2 separate regions of the Homo sapiens genome follow, and region 1 is linked to region 2. The links are contacts of gene promoters, found by promoter capture Hi-C in human tissues and cell types (Jung and others, 2019). All regions are on one chromosome and are shown on one strand. Each heading gives the region's core, a stretch centred on a gene start or on the middle of the fragment in contact. The rest is flanking DNA. Distances are from core to core; before and after follow the strand shown.

Evidence for each region. The method cuts DNA at HindIII sites, captures the fragments that hold promoters and counts their contacts. A contact is called where the count stands out against the background at its distance.
Region 1: a contact is called between a fragment that was not itself captured here and the fragment with the promoter of RLN1 in region 2, in 1 of the 25 tissues and cell types used here (heart left ventricle).

The regions. Positions count from the first base shown.
Region 1 is chr9:5,686,364-5,689,075 of GRCh38, reverse strand. The region is part of intron 2 of RIC1 (RIC1 partner of RAB6A GEF complex); the gene reads right to left. Among named protein-coding and RNA genes, the nearest start is that of INCR1, 58 kb to the right of the region's middle. The HindIII fragment of the contact is 4,729 bases long and covers 1-2,712 here.
Region 2 is chr9:5,338,557-5,341,256 of GRCh38, reverse strand. RLN1 (relaxin 1) reads left to right here and starts at 1,381. Exons shown (of 2, transcript NM_006911.4): 1 at 1,381-1,721. The coding sequence starts at 1,511. It also overlaps a transcript of RLN2 not described here. The HindIII fragment of the contact is 11,119 bases long and covers 1-2,700 here.

The sequences.
Region 1 (2,712 bases), core at 163-2,662, 350 kb before region 2:
CTCCGTCTCAAAAAAAAAAAAAAAAAAAAAAGAAATTGTATTAAAAACAGTGCTATTACATGATCATGACATACATCTGCGTCATGACATACATACATTTGTGAAGTTCAAACAACCATTTTACATTTCTGTAAGTACAAAATATTATATTTAGCTGTTTCCAGCCAAACATTTTTACGCCTAACAGAGTGAAGTGGCAGTGTTTTGCCCAAACTACTTTACAGTAATACTGAATTCCTATCATTTTAGAGGGAGGTGGGCATGTACTCAAAGTAGAACCAAAGAAAACCAAGAAATTATCCAAGGTTTCAAATTACTTTCTAATTCTGGCTTCCTGTTTTTCAAAGGAATGACCAAGAAAATACTTAGTTTCTTCAGCAAAACCAGGTGGTTTGCTTTCTTTTTGACCATTAACTTTACTATTTTATAATGTATTTGAAACTAGAGTTTCAACACTGTAAGATACAAAAACAAAAGGGTGAAAATTCTTCAGATAAGATCATCTTTCTAATTCTTTATGTGCAATTTTATGTTCTTGCAATATGGAGAGTATGGAAGCAAAAGGAAAATGGCTTCAAATCAAATCATAACAAAGGTTTCACACATAAAAAAACAAGAACAACAACAACAACAAAAACAGACAAAATCTATGAAATACTTTTCAAAACACTGGCATCAAGCAATGAAGGCCAGTCATCCTTGAGAGATAAGAAACAACTGAAGTGACCCTCCTACTCTTACCCAGCTTACTGCCTTGTGAGAATTTCTGGGTCAGCACACTTAGAAGGCGCACTAAGACAAAGCCTGGCAGACTTCCAGAGTTGAGAAGAAGCTGAAGAGTCCAGGAAGAGTAAGACAAACATGAGACATAATGAAAAATCAACCAATCAAAACAATGCATAACTCAATCAGATGTTAAAATTAGCACAAAAGGACATTAAAACCTTTTGCTATATTTCATAATGTTCCAAATGTGAACTATATTCTGTATGTTCCAAAGGTTAGGCAATATAGAAAACTCAAACAAAACTCTAGAAACAGAAATACTAAAATATCTGAGATGAAAAAGACATTGGCTGGATGAATGACAGGTTAGACAATGATCAGAAAAGCACAGCAATAAAAATTATCCATAATGAAACACACACACACACAAAAAAACCCAAAATAAAACAGAAACAAAATCAGTGAATTGAGGAACAACTTCATGTAGCCCAATATACATATAAACAGAGTCTCCGCATGACAGGGGTAAGAGTCAGAAAAAAAATATTTAATTAAATTCAAATTTCATTTGCTTCACTTAAATTTCTTTAAAAGATAACAGGCTTTAAAACAAGAATAATAGCAGTGTATGCTGGGGTTTATACCGTGTGTAAAAATAAAATGTGTATAATATATGTTTCCTGATCCCAATAGAACAAAACTAGAAACAAATAAAAAAAATTCTGGAAAGCCCACAAATATTTTGAAGCTTAACTGCATACTTCTAAATAACCCATGAATCAAAGGAGAAAAAGGGAAATTTTAAAAATACATCATCCCAAAATTTGTGGGATGCTGCTAAAGCAGTACTAAAGAGGAAATTTACAGCCTTAAAATACTTATATTAGAAAAAAAGGAAAATCTCAAATCAATGACAAGCTTCTACCTTAAACTAGAAACAAATTAAACTAGAGCAAACGAAATCCAAAGCAAGTGGTGGAGGGTGGGGAAGCATGCAAATAACAGAGATCAGAGTGGTAATCAATGAAATAGAAAACAGAAAAATAAAATCAATGAATAAAAATCTGGGGTTCTTTTGTTATTGTTTTAGAAGATCACTAAAACTGACATATTTCTGGTCACACTGATCAGGCAAAAAAGAGCCACTAACAGAAATCAAAGAGGTGATATCACTACAAATTCTAGAGGTATTAAAAGAATAATGAGGTCACATTATTAATATGACAATAATTTTAACAACTTGGATGAGATGGACAAATTCCTTGATAAACACAAACCACCAAAGTTCACTGAAAAGAAATCTGTACCCTGAAAAGCCAATGTCTGTTAAAGAAATTATAATTCCAATTCAAATCCTTTCCACAAAGAAAATTCTAGGCTGAGACAGCATCACTGGTAAATTCTACCAACTCTTTAAGAAATAAATAATATCAGTTGAATACAGACTCTTCCAGAACACCAAAGAGAAGGAACCACTTCCTATCTCATTTTATGAGGCCTCATAACAAAACCAGACAAAGACATTATAACTACAGGCCAAGATCCCTCATTAACATATTCTTTTTTTTTATTATTATACTTTAAGTTTTAGGGTACATGTGCACATTGTGCAGGTTAGTTACATATGTATACATGTGCCATACTGGTGCGCTGCACCCACTAACTCGTCATCTAGCCTTAGGTATATCTCCCAGTGCTATCCCTCCCCCCTCCCCCCACCCCACCACAGTCCCCAGAGTGTGATATTCCCCTTCATGTCTCCCTGTGATCTCATTGTTCAATTCCCACCTATGAGTGAGAATATGCGGTGTTTGGTTTTTTGTTCTTGTGATAGTTTACTGAGAATGATGATTTCCAATTTCATCCATGTCTCTACAAAGGACATGAACTCATCATTTTTTATGGCTGCATACTATTCCATGGTGTATATGTGCCACATTTTCTTAATCCAGTCTATCATTGTTGGACATTTGGGTTGGTTTCAAG
Region 2 (2,700 bases), core at 132-2,631:
CACCCAAAAACAAACAAAAAACTCTGGAAATTTACATTTTTAATGAGCAATTAATTTGGAGTACAGCCTAGCACGTGGATTGTTTTTACAAGGACTGTTAACCCACGAAAATATTTTCAAACCTCAGTTTTGAGAGGCCTTTCTCAAACTGTGTGTTTTAGTGAAAATCCATTTAAAATCATTAATTGCCTCTAACCATCTCATAGCTTTGGTCAGGTATTTTTTGAAGAATTACACATTGCTTGGCATTTGACCAATGTTAAGTGGGCCTACTGAAATCACCAGCAATCTAGAAATTAGAATTACTTGATTCCATAGTTATGTTTGTAACTAAGAGATTGTTATTATTTTATTTCAAAGCTACCATAACGTCCTGCATGTCTCCAGTTTATCTGATGGAGCTGAACTAATCTGAGTATATTATGAACACAAGCAAGTAAGTTATTTTTAAAAATGAACCTATTTGTACTAAAAATTTACAGGTAGAAGGGTCGTCTACTAACCATATTATCTAGAACTGTGTGGATCTTTAAAATGCTAAATTAGGTGGTGGTAATAAAAAAAGAATCACCTCTAACCAGGTGCAGCAAACACAAAATACAGTAAACAAATGAACATATCCTTGTGCTGTAATTTGTTATCAAAATATTATTTCTGGGAATGTGGGATGTCCACTGCTTTTTTTCCCCTTCTTCTTTCTCTTCTTCTTTTCTCTCTCTCTTTCTCTCTCTCTGTGTGTGTGGTGTGTTCTCCAGTCTCCAGAGACATAGACTAGAATTTTAAATTAAAATATTTAGACAACTAGTTACAATCAAACTTCTCCCACAGGAGTGGAAGGAAAGTCCAATGGAGAAATTGTTTTGTAAATTAAAGACATTACTGCACAAGCCTAAAATGATGTTACTGGGGATTTTAATCTTTTTACCTGGATTCAGATTAAAAGTCATCAGTTTTCCCTCTCATCAACAATTTATTCATTCATCCATTATATTTTTATGGATTGATATGCCCAACATTATACTAATTAATCCAATTTATAAGGTAATCTATAATCCTATTTAGGTTAGAAGGGTTTTTGGCAAATGTTCACTCTGGAAAACTGGGTTGTAAGAATATTGGCGATCTCAATTTTATTTCTGTGTATGTAAAAAGAAAGGCTTCATATCTAAAATAACTTTACCTAAGTATACAAAGTTGTTTCAGGGTAACAAAAGAGCGAAAAACAAAACTGTAAAAGGGCCAAGGACAGAGGAATGGGCAAATGAAGGAAGGGCGGAGAGGCAGAACAAGAGCTGAAGGAGAAAATTCTGTGGAGGGGTGTGGGAAAGGGGTGGAGCTGGCAACCTTGCCTTAAAAGCTGAGTGATAGCCCATACTAAAGACTGGTTGAGCCGGGTAGGGAAAGCAGCCTAAAGCCCGGGACAGGCACACAGGCCCAGGTGTGTAGGCCACAGCAGCCGCAGTCCTGAAAGGCTGCAACACCCAGACCTCCAGGAGAGACCAGGCCCAGGATGCCTCGCCTGTTCTTGTTCCACCTGCTAGAATTCTGTTTACTACTGAACCAATTTTCCAGAGCAGTCGCGGCCAAATGGAAGGACGATGTTATTAAATTATGCGGCCGCGAATTAGTTCGCGCGCAGATTGCCATTTGCGGCATGAGCACCTGGAGCAAAAGGTCTCTGAGCCAGGAAGATGCTCCTCAGACACCTAGACCAGTGGCAGGTGAGAGCTCCCGCCCCCTCCCGGCCTTCCCGCGCTTCCCATTGGTTACTCTGGGGCGGCCGCCCAATTGGAACGGCGGCCTGCACGTCCGACTCGAGATCTCATTGGCTGCCACCGCTCAGCCCCTACTCAGCCGTGGCTGGTCCCTAAAGTTTGGGCTTTTCCTTTGCCAGGTGATTTTATTCAAACAGTCTCACTGGGAATCTCACCGGACGGAGGGAAAGCACTGAGAACAGGAAGCTGCTTCACCCGAGAGTTCCTTGGTGCCCTTTCCGTAAGGCAGTCAGAGCGACGGGGTGGAAAGGGAGGGGAAGCCTCAGAGGAGGTGACGCCGCCCGGAGACCCGCAGGAGGCCGGGCGCACTCCTGCACCCCACAGGAAAGCCAGGCGGCCAGACAGCGGGCGTGCTGGTGGGGGCACCTGAACAGGGCTTCTCGGATAGAGAGGAGAGGGGACAAACACTGAGGCGGCGCGCTAGTTATCAAGCCTGTTTGCGCGCCTGTAGGACGGGGCAACACTCTGAGGTCTCTGTGAGGGTCCCGTGATGGGAAGACAGGAAGGGCCTTACACTTAATGACTCTCCTAGTCCAGAAGTTGGGCTGTGGCCTTTGCCATTGGAAACGTTCTTTAAAATAAACAAACAGAAAATCCCAAAGGAAAGAGTCTGACCTCCCGCTTCTTTGATCTGGGTATTGAAGTTCATTTGTGAGGCAGGGGATGGAAGAGAAAGGAAAGGCTTGAATGCCTTTAGGAGAAACTCAAGAGGACCAGAGACAAGGAAAGCAGGCCGTTCAGACCATCATAGCTGAAGACCCTACTGATGCTTTCAAGCATTTGGAAGCTGCAGTGGGTTTGCTTTAAAGGCAAGCTCTTAGAGTTGAGTACAGCTCAATCTGAAATGGCTTTTAAAAATATTTTAGTATTTATAAAGTAGCAGTGGAAACTCATGGAGGTATATACTAGTCTAAGAAGTGTAACG